Linked DNA regions of Homo sapiens: region 1 is linked to region 2. Evidence: promoter capture Hi-C in human tissues and cell types (Jung and others, 2019). All regions are on one chromosome and are shown on one strand. Each heading gives the region's core, a stretch centred on a gene start or on the middle of the fragment in contact. The rest is flanking DNA. Distances are from core to core; before and after follow the strand shown. Region 1 has its middle 120 kb from the start of LINC02227. Region 2 holds the start of EBF1 (EBF transcription factor 1).

The links. The method cuts DNA at HindIII sites, captures the fragments that hold promoters and counts their contacts. A contact is called where the count stands out against the background at its distance.
Region 1: a fragment that was not itself captured here is called in contact with the fragment with the promoter of EBF1 in region 2 in 1 of the 25 tissues and cell types used here (mesendoderm cells).

Annotation. Positions count from the first base shown.
Region 1 is chr5:158,289,978-158,296,729 of GRCh38, reverse strand. No RefSeq gene overlaps it. Among named protein-coding and RNA genes, the nearest start is that of LINC02227, 120 kb to the left of the region's middle. The HindIII fragment of the contact is 5,538 bases long and covers 2,285-6,752 here.
Region 2 is chr5:159,098,401-159,105,530 of GRCh38, reverse strand. EBF1 (EBF transcription factor 1) reads left to right here and starts at 5,615. Exons shown (of 16, transcript NM_024007.5): 1 at 5,615-6,186. The coding sequence starts at 6,053. LINC02202 (long intergenic non-protein coding RNA 2202) reads right to left here and starts at 5,048. Exons shown (of 3, transcript NR_109890.1): 1 at 4,693-5,048. It overlaps LOC107986467 (a long non-coding RNA gene), which reads right to left and starts at 512. Exons shown (of 2, transcript XR_001742942.1): 1 at 435-512. RefSeq lists enhancers at 594-1,499, 4,080-4,706, 4,707-5,335, 7,085-7,130 and a silencer at 6,153-6,442. The HindIII fragment of the contact is 15,907 bases long and covers 1-7,130 here.

The DNA.
Region 1 (6,752 bases), core at 3,804-6,303, 810 kb after region 2:
TCTTAACTTGGGGTTTTTCAGACCATACAAATAGCCAAGCTTTGGTCCCCCAAACTTGTATCAGTAATGCAATGCAATATGTTAGGAAAGTACTGGCCTTGTAGGTATTTTACCTTCTTATATGTGTGTGGTGGGGGTAGTGTTTATGAGGGAAAGTCATTTAGTAAGACAAAAATCAGGTCTTTAATTTTCATAATAAAATATATTCTGCTGTATTCATGTTCCCTTTCTCAGACATATGGCTTTATTTCAATCAATAATATAGGATACCCACATTTTAGGTAGTAGCTATTAACGTCAATTCTTAGCTATCTAACACACCACTCCAGTTATAAGCAATACAGTAGAGGAATAGTTTAAGAGGTATGTTCACTCTTCACCCCTGAAACATTTTCTGCCTTTATTCCCATATCATATCTGATCATCAGAAAGTTTTACCCCTGACATATATGTGGCCTGCTATTAAACACCACAAGGATCTAAGATTGCCTTTTAAGAACATGACTTATAATAGTGCTCTCTGCATAATTCTCTTTCATGGAGGATTGACATTAAAAAAGCTATATGTAGAATTTCTCATAATAACCACAGCAATTAAGACATGATGCTTCTGATATTAAGAAAAAAACTGCAAGGCAAATTCTTCCCTAAGTTCAAATTTAGGGAATAAAAAGTTTGTGTCTCCTGTTATATTTTATTGGATTAAAAAAAGCTGTGCAGACACATTATCCTTTTGTCCTGGCTGCTCACAAGCTTGGAGCCTATATTATGCCCAATTGCAGTAGCTTTCCTCAGTCTGTTTTCTGACTCATTCCTCTTTTCATCTTCCTCTAAAAAATTGTATCCATAGGCTGGTCGCAGTGGCTCACGCCTGTAATCCCAAAACTTTGTGAGGCCAAGGCAGATGGATCACGAGATCAGGAGTTCAGGACCAGCCTGGCCAACATGGCGAAACCCTGTCCCTACTAAAAATACAAAAATTAGCCGGGCATGGTGGCATACACCTGTAGTCCCAGCTACTCGGGAGGCTGAGGCAGCAGAATTGTTTGAACCTGGGAGGCATGGTTGCAGTGAGCCAAGATCTCGCCATTGCACTCCAGCCTGGGTGACAGAGCGAGAGTCTGTCTCACGAAAAAAAAAAATAATTGTATCCATATATTCACTCTATATTTTCTATTACAGTCTTCTTCAGGTCTTTGGGGAGTATGTGAGGCATAAATAATTATATTAAAAAATGTCCATGGGCCTCAGTTTCACCGTCTGTCAAGGAAAAGGTTTAACTAGATGATAATTTATGGCTTTAAATTTTCTAACAGTGTGAATCAAAGAAGAATTAAACTTATAGTGGGGCACAGTTGAAAACTCATGATAATTCCACTACATGAAGGCTTTCAACCCAGAGATACAACCAAACTATTAAGGACATCTCCCCCATGATGACCCAGCCATCTTCACACACAGTCCGTTGGCAGAAAAACAGGCAATGACCCAAATGAATTGTTTATACCAGGGAAATAGGAAGAAGAATTTCTCTTTTCATAGAAGATGCTCGGTACATACCATCTCAACCCTAGTCCATGTCCATAATAGGCACTGCAAATCAATCAGGGGACTGTTGGCTTCTGAGCACAGACCTGGTCTCAGAATCTAGCATGACATTCTAGAGAATCATAGTCAATCGTTCGGAAATGACATATAACAACAGCCAACATCCATTAGCACTTTCAATGTGCCAGGCATTATTTTAGCATTTATTTATGTAATTCTCCCAATTCGGTGCTGTGGTTTATGTTAATATCCCTTATTTTACAGATTACAGATCAAGGCATGCAGAAATTAAGTAAACTTATCCAAAACAACATCGTTCCTAAGTGCTGGGTCATGAAGTTTCGTCAAATAAAATCTACATGCATTCCTTTCCTTGGTAGCTCGGTGCTAACTGAAGTTAATGCAGGTATTGTTGGGCTTTCAATTTGATCTGAAATAGCTACTGCAGAGTCCCTGAGGGGTGGTCTGCTCTCTGCTATCTCAGACATAGTTGTTGCCATGCTAATGAATGGGCCTTATTCTATTCTAGCAATCTCCAAAATAGGGAGTACGTACTCCAGGAGAAGTGCAAGACAATTTGCTTTAATGAAGGAAGACAGTTATGTTCTTTTCTACTTCTATTTATTTTGTCTATAAAAATAAGAAGAAAATCAAGCTATACCAATGAATAAAATAAGGAACAATAATAAGATTATAATTTATATATAAATACATATAGATTGGGGGTTTGTGTTCAGAATTTTTATTTTTATGTATAGGAAGCATGATTCAAAATGTTTAGAAAACAAGGGTCTATATTTAAGTTAGAAAAATGGGAGTCAGGCATGATGGTGTGCATCTGTAGTCCCAGATACTCAAGAGACTGAGGCAGGAGGATTGCTTTAGCCCAGGAGTTTGAGGCTGCAGTGAGCCATGATAGCACCACTGCACTCCAGCCTGGGCAACAGAGTAAGAACTCAACTCTTAAAAAAAATAAAATAAAATAAAAAGAAACATGAGGTTATGACCTCCAAATAAGTGCTTTACAGATTGAAGCTGTTAGACAAAAATACTCAGCTAACTAATTACTTTTGCTGCCAGCTAACTAATTACTTTTTGCAACTGCCAGGCTCTTGCAGGAAGAAGATTGGGGTTGCTTTACCATTCCATTATTTATTTCTTTTGTGATGCTGAATGTGCCAGTTGGGTCTAAGCCTCAGTTTTCACAACTGTTAAATAGAGAGAATAATAGCACCATGTACTGATAAGGCCATGATCCAACCTCTCTGCACTTCAGTTTTCCTGTCTATAAAATGAACACGTCAATAGTACTAAACTCTTAGGTTTATTTTTAAGAATCATTAAAATAACCCAATTTCAAGCACTCTGCAACTTCCATCAAAAAACTAAGTCTTTCTCTTCAACCCTTGAATTTGAACTGGACTTGTGACTTCCTTTAACCAGCAAAATGTGACAAAAGTGACAGACACATAGACATACCAGTTCTAAGTTTAGGCCTTAAGAGGCTTTGCCATTTCTGCTCTCATCTTCTCAGAGTACTCTAATGACCATGTGAAAAAGCCCAACCCTGCCAACTTGAGGACAAGAACCACATGAAGAGGGGGTCCCATCTAATAGCCAATACCAAGCCCCAGATAGGTGAATGAGGCCATCTTACCTTATCTAGCCCTTCCTTAGCCACCAGCTGATGTGTCACCAAAAGATGAGCTGAGCTAAAACCAACAACAGAACCACTCAGCAGAGCCCAATCCAAATTGCTGAACCACAGAATCACAAGCTAATAAATTATTTCCTTAAGCCACTTGATTTTGGAGTGGTTTGTTACACAGCCATAGCTAACTGATACAGTTCTATTAATTACAGTTCTAATAATCACTATTATTCCATTTGATGCTCTTTCAACTCTGTGAGATAAGCAGGATGGATAATATCTCCCATTATTAAATAAGAAAATAGACTATGCAACTCTTTCCTGTCACAGTGGACTCTCAAATGGGATGTGTGACAATGACTCATATGGATGTGGAAACATTACACTGTGTAGTTATCTTCGTTTTAGTTTTTTAAAAGGAAACAAGCACAACTTTACTGATATTAATACACAACAAGAATGTATATAATTTATAAATAACTGTACACACATTAGGGATACATGCTAGAAAATGTTTTGTTGATAGTGATGTGACATCAAAAAGTTTGTAAACAATTGCTTTAAACAAGCTGGTAGAAGAGAATATATTAAAATATAAGTCTATGTACACTATAAGCTTATGCTGACAAGTGGAAGACTTAACCCAACTGTCTTACCTGGACTATTGGACTTCCAAACCCAAAGAGTAGAACTACTTCAACAAAATCACAAAATGAACAGGATATTTGCTACAGAAAAAAAAAAGAATTTTCAGAAAGCAATTATCTTCCTTTGAGGAATTAAGCATAATAGTTAAAAATTCAAATTCTATAGTTTTCTAAAGTATAAATAAAATATCTCAGTATGGAAGACATGCATTTTTTAAAAAAGTAGAATAAATTAATTTAAATTATGCCCTGCTGGACATTTGATAATTAGGTTTATATATGATTGCATCTGGAAAACATCATTCTTCCAAATAGGAAAATTATGCAGTATGTATTGTATTGTGGGGGAAACCACATGAAGTTATTTTGCTTCTACCATCAGCAAGGAGGTCCCAAATTGCTTTAAGAATAATTATGAAACACTCTTCCTATATTATATGAAATAAAAAAAATCATGGATCCCAAAATTCTATATACAGCAGATCGAAATTAAAATCATGTGTTTTTTGGTTTTATTTTTTGGAATTCATTGATAATAAGAATTTCCACTAGCTCTCTAAACAATGTCAATGAAGGAAATATATTGAAATCCAGTTCTGTGATTAGCTGGCTGGGCATTTGGAGAGGGCTGTGTTTGTCAGGGATTATGAGGATTAAGTGAATTAATACATATGAAACTCTTAGAACAGTGTCTGGCACACAGAAAATGCCCAATGCAGGTTACAATTATGAGGACAGGAGCAGAGATAAGGATGTCGTCCCTGGGGAAACTTTGGCTTGGCCTATCCCTTTTTTTTACACACACACACACACACACACACACACACACACTCAATGTAGGAGCCGTTGTCAGCCTGGGTGCCACAGAACTGACCATCACTGAAGTCAGTCTTCCCAGGTTCCCTGACTTTACAGATGTGAAACAGGTTCAGAGGAATTAAATGACCTGTGCACAAGCATTCACATCAGAGTCTAAAAGTCTCCTAAGTCTTTGCTGTTTACATATATTAGACTGCCTTCAAAAATCATTCCAGGACAGACAATACAATTTTCTCTCAGACCTAATTTGATTCTCAGAAGGAACCTCCCAAACTCCCTGGAGTCTTCTCCCTTCTTCCAGGTTTCAGGCTGAGGGACCTGCCCAGTTTATCACTGATGTGCCATGAGCCCAGAGCCCAAACATGATATGCCTCCTGGCTGAGTATCCCCTGCTCACACACACAAAAACACACTCAAGCAGCCTAACAAAAGACCCCCACTTAAGCTGCACCAGAGCAACACATCACCTAAAATAAATGTAGCACATATCACCATTCATGCACACGGTGAAGGGCAGGCAAGACGTGCCATCTTTCCTACTAAAAAGTGGGGGTTATTTCTCCCTCAAGGGGACATTTGGCAACATCTAGAGACATTTCTTGCTGTCACAAATGGGGAGGGGAAGCTGTGCTGCTGGCTTCAAGTGAATAGAGGCAACGGGTGCTGCTAAACATTCTACAATGCACAGGACAGCCCCCCACAACAATTGTCTGACCGAAAATGACAGTGTTGCCAGAGTTAAGAAACCCTGCTTTAATAACTATAAAACCCTTGCTGCCTCTTTTTTCTCTGTCAATCAAATGGGGGTAATAACAGTCTTTGCCTTAGAGGATTATTGTCAGGACTGAACAAGAGGATCTATGCCAATGGTGCCTAACTCACAATTAACAGTTGACTCTTTCATTCAGTAAATATGGAATGGCCACAAGACAGTGGATATAAAAGAGTGTGAAAATACTTGTCTTCTCTTCACTACTGGAAACTCCAGGCTAGAGGGGGAGACATTAATCAAATAGTCACGCAGACAATAAAAGTTAACTATGATTATTGTTATTGCTATTATTTAAAAGAATTCTCTTCTTTTGGTGACTTCTCCATGCTAAGCCTCATTCCCAAGCCACTTCGGTGATTTTTCTAATATAACCCAACAATGGCTAATACCAAAGGTGAGTAAGCTAAAAGCTTTCCATGGCTACACTGGGATGGAGGAGCAGGAAAGCTCTTTGCTCATCTGTCAGCTCTTCAACCTTTGAGGGAAGCTGCCTCCAAGTTCTAATTGCCTGCTCCAAACTCCACAGCGTCGGGGGAAGGGGGCACGTGATCAACGGCAGCCCCGCCACTGTGCTGTGTTGCTATAGTAAGGATGCCCTTTATTGATCAGACTGGCCTGGAGTCATGTAACTCCCCAGCTTACTGCTGAGCTCCCCAAGGGGCAGTTGGCAGGCAGTGGTATCTCTCTGGACTAACGCCGATCCCCAGCTCTGCCCTCTCTCCTCCCCTGGACACACAAAGGATGCCTGCAGAAACACCTAATGTTTCTTTGTAGTGTCTTGTCATTCACACACTAATTTGAAGTCACAGATCAAAACTGGTGAGAGACATCAGGGGAAAGATATTTGAAGACTCCCCCCTTCCCTAAAGCAATGCTGCAGTCCTGCATCAGCAGCCAGTAAGTCCACTATTTTCCCCAGAGAATCTCTTTCCTATCCTTTAATTTCACCACTTTCAGAATCTCTCCATCTTGCCAACATTTTTATTATAGAAAGTTTGACTGACTCTTAGAGTAAGTGCAATATGTCTGCTACGGATCAGAAAACCAATGTCCTGAGAGGTTGATGGACTTGCTGAAAGTTCACAGTGCTGGTTAGTAACTGCACAACCAGCACTGTGAGATATCCCCTTTCTTTCCTCCTTCCTTTTAGTTCCCTCAGAAAATGGGCAACCAGGAGTCATTTCCATGTGGATTTTTCTTTTGTTTTCTTTTTAATTTCTAAACATAAGGCACTAAAACTGTCTTGCTTCCTTAAGAACTTCAAATGTCATTGAATATTCACATTTATCTTTTGGACACCCTCCTCCACTCCCAC
Region 2 (7,130 bases), core at 4,366-6,865:
GACTGACAGGAGGTCACATAGTAAATGTGGCAGAGCCGGGGCCGGGGCTGGCACGTCCCTGGCGCGCTCTGTCCCTGCGGGCCAGGAGAGAGAGAAGCACATCGGTAACTGACCACGTGAATGCGCATTCAGTACGCGCATTAGTTAGGACGTTTCATAGTCTTCCCCTTTCCTCTCCTCTGCTCCCTGCCCTCGGGAGGCACCGTGCGCGCTCGCTCCTTTCTCCTCCCGGATGCGGAACCCGGGCCCAGGAGCTCCAGAGCCAAAGGACACTTGAGAGTTGGGGGACAAGAGATTCGCGCCACAGCTGGGTGGACGGTTTGGCTCTATATTTAAGGGGACAGGCTTTAGCGATATTCTGGCTTGGCGACTTTATTAGCTGTTGGCCGTGGACAAGTTTTTCAACTTCGCTCACAGGGTCTCTGTTTGCTCACCTGTAAAACGCCGGAGTGGTCTTATCTGCCGTGGTCTGTGGCGGATATTCAGTGAGTTCCTGCCCGTAAAGCCATCAACAAATGGGATCTATTATTATCTGGGGCCGCCCGGGGGGAAACCCAAGAGAGTTGGCAGGCTCGCCCCAGAAAGACCTGTAGGAACCCCTTGCCCCAGGCTTCTGGCCGTATCAGACTAAGCGCTCCCAACCTGGGACGGAGCCCCGCGGTGTTGTTTGCTTGGTCTCTATCTCCTAGCCGTCTGTGGGTGTCTTTGTCCTTCTCTAGGCCTCAGTTTCCCTGTATGTACCATGGGGGGTGGGAGGTGGAGGTGCGCTCCCAGAGCCGGGAAGTGTCGGTCATACTGGGCCAGCAGAGGAGGCCTTCTCTGGAGCGTAGGGAATCGGAAACAGAAATCAGATTCTGGATTTCCAGTGGACCCCTGGCCTGCTACTCCCACGCGTTCCCCGAGGACTGCGCATGGAGATCACCGAGGAAAAGAGCCACGGTTTTGAGGGCTGGCGGTGTGTCACGGTGTTCGGCCACTCGCGCCATCTTCCGGGTGCAGTTCAGGGGCCCCGCAGAGCCGAGCCTTCGCGCAGGTCCCGGCTTTCCCAGGTCCCCGGGCCGCCACCCACTCCTATTCTCGTCCACCGGGCAACGCCGTGGCCCCTGCTCCTCTCCACCTCAACCCCGACTCCAGGCTGCTGGTCGACTCCTCTGGAGCGGCCGCAATCTGAGGGACTTTGCGCCTTGGCTTAGGTCCTTGCATCTTTCTTTTCCCCTTTCCCTTCCCAACACTGAAGTAGGCATCTGTCCTCCCGCCTCGTTCGAAGCTGTCCCTGGCAGGTGGCGAGGGAAGGGGGCACGTCCCGGGACGGTTTGCCCTTCTGTGGGCCCGCCCTCACAAGGGGAATGGAGATCAAGAGAATTTTCCAAGTGACAGGTCCCAAGTCTGGCCTCCTGGGGGCGGACGAACAGAGACGATTCCCTCTTCCGCTGGGACCTTTCCACGGGTCTTAGTTTGGCTGTATTTATCTAGTCTCTTCTCTTTGGGGAGACCGGTATGTTTCTACTGGAGTCCCCAGAAATTACTGGTAGATGTTGCCTTTCAGAAAGGGGAATTGATTTCCCTGTGCCTCAAGAGGGTTGGGATAGCCAAGGAGCAGAAGGTCAGGGTGGGAGTGGGTGGGTAGGGAGTGCTTGCACACTGCCCTGGGCTTCCTCCAGGCCCAGGTCAAGAGATCCCGAGAGCTGGACAGCCCTGCCTACCGCTGGGAGCATCTGAGGGGCTGTGTATCCTGAACTCCCACAGCTGCAGAAATTTTGAGGAGCTCATCAGGGAAACTAGGCTCCAGGGGAAACCCCAAACCTCTCTAGTTTTTCTTTCCAGGTGTAAACTCATTCTGCTGTATTTTTTCCCCATGCAAAAGTCTTTTTTCCTCACGCCTTCCTTCCCTTCCTTCTTTCTCTCAGAGATGATATATATTCAAAAATCAAGAGTTTCCAAATAACTTTAAATACAGATCCCAGGCACCAACACAGGAGGTTCTGATTCTGTGGGTCAGGATAAGGCCTGGAAATCTGCATTTCTAACAAGTGCCTGCACCCTTCCCCATGTGATTAGCCTGATGAACCCAGTTTGGGGATTACTATTATAAACTACCCTAAAGTCAAATCACTCATATGCCATAAAGCCTAGGCAATGCTGTACATACTAGAATATCTCATTACAGGATACCTTTACCATAAAGTATATACCTAAGGTAATTGTGATGGATAGTGCTTGAAGTATCTGCTTTCAGGTATGATGGCAATCACCCTCTACACACATGCTTTGTCTCTGGAGGTAGTGCTACCCTCACATGAAGATTTAGAAGTATTTAAGAGGCTCTTTTTCAAAGTTTAAAATTACAATTGCTGGTTCAATATTCACCAGAGAAAATCCATAAAAAAAACTACTGCTCTGCTGGCCTGTGTGTCATTTCCAGTTTTCTGTCACTCACTCTGTCTCTCTTCCACCTTCTCTTTAGCCTCCTTCCTACTTAAACATTTATTACAGGATGAGAAAGCCAGACTGAAAGCACAAGGACACCAAGAAGAAAAGCTATGAATACACTCGGCTTGATTAAAATAAAGCACACTCACCACCCCAGGTGAGGTATGTGCTGCCTCTGCACAGCCAAAGGAAATTAGTCTTATCAAAATATTTCTGCCCCCTTTTATTTTTCTTCCTTCTCTAGCCTGGCAGGTATGGAAATTGCCTCCCTCATATTTAGTTCCTGGAGAGACTGGCTCTGGGGTAGAAATTGAGCTGCTCAGGACTTCTTGCTTTGTGCCACTTTCTCATTTGGGTGAGTCAGCTTCAGGCTCTCAACAAACGCATCCTTTGCAGATGCTTCTAGACTCTGTTCAACCCCAGAAATCTATCTGCTGTGTGTCTCTTGCTGATCCTGGACTTGAGGGTGTCTATGCTTTTCTTTTCCCTGGCACTTTTGTCACCTTCCTTTGGCAGTGATCTGCTCCCTTATTTTGTGTCCCTCACCACTGGAGACACCCCACCAGACTCAGCTGGGAGTCCTGCAGTTGAGGACTGTTTACTGGAGAGTAAAATGGAGGTTCAGGCAGATAAAGAGAAGGAGGCCTAGGCCTTTTGCCAGGGCTATATGGGACCCATTGATAGGATGGGTGGGCTTTGCTTCCTCATCTCCTTACCTTCAAGGATCCTCTCTGAGCTGGAGAATATGGCCCAGGCAGGGGGAGGGATTGACTCTGGGGACCCCTTTGGACCTGGAGCATAAGGTTAAGTTTGGAGCTTTAGAAAGTTTTTAGCAGGCCAAGTTTCAATTGTGCATTTAAATACTATAGAGACTGAAAATGTTCACATACCTATCCCCAAAAACCTACAGCCCTTCAAGTCTCTCCACCATTATACTCTTCTTCGACATGAACGCTATGTTAGGAACCCCTGTGAATGCTATGGGGATCCCAAAAGATCAGACCAATCCCTTCAGGGAAGTCCTGGAAGAGATGGCATTAATTATGGTACCAGGGGAAAGTGCTCAGCACACAAGAAGTCTAGATTACATGTGTGAGAGCTGGGCAGGCCTCGTGCACAGGAGATAAAGCAGTGTTTGAGGACAGTGGCCATGCACTGCAGGCCAGGACCACACTCTTTCATCCAGTTTAGGAATCAGGAAGTGGCTCCACTGCTCTGCCAAGAGCACAAAGCATAACTCTTGCCTGTCTCTATTCAACATGGGCATGTGTACTTTTCCATCACTGACCCCATGAGCTTCCTAAATCAAAGGACCAAGGAAGGCCAGCAGAAAGGGGACCTGGATTTCTGGCAGATAATTTCCCCGAAGGAGTCCTTAGCAGATTTGGCTGCAGTCAGGGAGTTCCTTTGAGGGCAATGAAACAGAAGTTCACCATGTGCTTATTAGAGGTTACAACCTGCTAAAAAATGATGGGGTACATTACCCAGAAACTTCTAGCTATTTCCTTTGCCAGCCACAAAGATACATGCTGAAAAGCCTGAGGAGGGAGACAATTTCGTCCTTTTTTCTTTCCCTTTTTCCTTCCATCTCTCCCATTTCCATTCGTTCCTTCTCCTTCTCTCCTTTCTCTCTCCCTCCTTCCTTCCCATTTTCTCTTCCCCTTCTTCCTTTTTTGTCCTTTCTCCCCACCTTCCTTCTCTTCTCCCCCCACCCTTTTCATATGGCAGAGACAGAGTTAGGAAGGATTTGTTCAAGCCCTCCTTTTTAACAGGAAGAATAAAGGAGGATGAGAAAAACCCTACACCAAATAACCAGCTAATCAAGGACGGTTAACATTGCTGTTGCTTTGGTAGTTACTCTAAAAACAAACGAACCAACTACTTGGGGTGGGGAATGAGGGGTTGGCATTTAATTTGAGAAAATTTAAAAACGCATCCTGACACAGCCCCAGTGAGAGCATTCATTCCACCATTCACATATCTCGAGGACTGCCCGAGAGAGGTGAGCGTGTGAGTGAGAACAGTGCCCAACCCTGGCAGCCTCTAGGCTAGCGGCCGAGAGAGAAGCGTTTCAGAGGCCGGGGTGGGAGTAGAGCCTGGTACCCCACTTCCTGGGGACCCACAGCGCCTCATTTGCCGGGGCCCAGCGTCCATTCATCCCTCCCAGCGTGGAGGCCGTGCCCCTCCGAGAGTTACCAGCCCCGACCTCGCGCACCCATATTCCATCCCACCGCCCCCGCCTCAAAGCGAAGAGGTGGGCACCTGGGACGCGCGTCCTGCTTTTTCTGCCCGGGCTCTCCCGTCTCCTCCACTTTTGTCCCCGACGTCCCAGAACGGCGGAGCAGGACGCGGCATCAGCCCTGGGAGGGCGCAGCCTGCGAGCCTCCAGCGCGCTCAGGGCGCGGCGAGGATGCTAAAGGACTGCAATGGCCAGGATGCAGATCCCCAGCTCAAATTCCTGAGGAAGACACCCGCCTCCCTTTCCCTCTGTCCCCTCTCCGTCCTCGCTCGGACCCGCTCCTCCCCAGCCCAGACGTCAGTGCTCAGCGCTCCTTCGCTCGCCACTTTGCGAGGAACTTTGGCCGGCTCCCCTGCGCCACCGGGAGCGGGATGTTAATGAGAGAGCGTGGCCTGGCGCCGCCAGCGAGCCGGCTCCCGGGCCGCGATTGGCTGCGGTGGGCGGAAAGATGACGTTATGCAAATGAAGGGGCGGGGCCTCGATGCGCGGGCCCCGCCTCCTCCCTTTGGGGTTAGTGTGCCTGTGTTTAGCTCTGGGGAAAGTCAAACTGGATTCCATAGGGAAAGCCTGCAAATCACTTCTATTTTAGCAAGGAGAAAACAGAATCTCCATCCAGCAGGGTCCACCCCTCTCTCTTTCTCCCTCTCCTCTCTATCTCTCTTTCCCTCCCCCCCTTTCCTCTCTCCCTCTCTCCCCTTCCCCCCACCCTCTCTGGTGTATCTGTCTACGGCAACCAGCGTCCTCCTCATCTACACGCAAAGGAAAGAAACATCTTTGGTTGGGAGAGAAGGAGGAAAAAAAAAGAGAGAGAGAGGAAAAAACTTGCCTGGTTGTGGAAAATGACACTTGAAGTAGCAAAGCCGGCAGCGCGAGTTGAGTCTATTGTTTCTTAAATTGCCATCAGGGTTTTTTTTTTTTTTTTTTTTTTTTTTTTTTTTTTTTCTTCCTGCTTCTTCAAGTGAAGGGTACCTCTACAAAAGGAAACTCCAGCCCCTCCTGTCCTCCACCGGCCTGTGATCATTACAAAAAAAAAAAAAAAAAAGCAAAAAAAAAAAAAAAGCACCCAAACCAAAAATCAACCAACCAAACAACCCCCAACAGCCAAGCATACATCTCTAATTTTATTATTTTGGTCTTTTCGTTGGATTTTCCCTTTCTTCTTTTTTTCGGGTTATCGCTCAGTTTTGAGCAGAGGTTTACATTTTTTAAAAATTTGCTTTCCAGCCCGCCTTGATCTTCTAAGTGCGAGTTCATCGTCTGAGAAAAAAAAAAATCTCTGGTTGGCGTTTTTGTTTCTTTTCTTTTCTTTCTTTTCTTTCCTTTTTTTTTTTTTTTAATTTTTTTCAAGGGGGAGGAGATTTTCCACAAGAAAAGGTTGTTTTCATGTTTGGGATTCAGGAAAGCATCCAACGGAGTGGAAGCAGCATGAAGGAAGAGCCGCTGGGCAGCGGCATGAACGCGGTGCGGACGTGGATGCAGGGCGCCGGGGTGCTGGACGCCAACACGGCGGCGCAGAGGTGGGTACTGCGCGGGGACCGCGGCCGAGGTGAGCCGCGAGCGGGAGAGCCGGGAGGCGGAGGCGGCAGCGGCAGCGGCAGCTGCTGCCGCGGGGCCGGGCGGCGGGGTGAGTCCGCAGCCGCTGCGCTCCGCTCTCCGCCGGGGCTCCGCGCTCTCCAGCCGCTCTGCCTTCGTCGCCTGCGGCCGGAGGACCTGGAGCTGTCTGCGAGGAGCCCACGCTTTGCCAGCACTTTCCCCTGCCTCGTCTGTGACTGTTTTCATTTTGTTTTAACCCAGAAGAGGCGTCTCAACACAGCATGTTGGAGATCTGTGTTTTATGTTTTTATGTGATTGCTCTTTCTTTTCCGGCCGGCTCTCTTTTCTTCTTTCCCTTCGCTCTTCCTTTCCCTCTTTTCTTTTTTCTTTCTTTCTTTCTCTTCCTTCCTTCCTTTTTCTTTCTTTTTTCTTTTTCTTTCTTTTTTTCTTTCCTCCTTTTCTTTTTCCTTTTTCTTTCTCTTTCCTCTTCCTGCCTTTCTTTTTTCTTTCTTCCTTCTTTCCTTTCTCCCCCCTTTATTTTCTTCTCTTCTCCTTCCTCTTCCTTTCTTCCCCTCTTCCCTCCTTCCATTTCTTTCGTTCTTCGTTCTTTCCTGTCTCTCTTCCTGCCTTCTTTTCTTTCTTCTTTCTTTCATTTCCTTCTCTCATTTCTTTCCCCCACCTTCCCTTAATTTCTCCCTCACTCTTTTCCTTCCTCCCTTCCTCTCTCCATTTTCTTTCTCTTCTTTCTTCAGCTTCCCTCCTTTCTCCTCTTTCTCCTTTCCTTACCTCTCTGGCTTTCCTGTTTTTTCGTCCCATTTCTCCCCTGAGTCTTCTCTTATTTCTGCTATCTCGTTCTCCTTCCCTCCCTCTCTGTCTTTCAGTTTTTTCTTAGTCTACCGGTAGAATAGCAACTCCCAACTTTAATTCT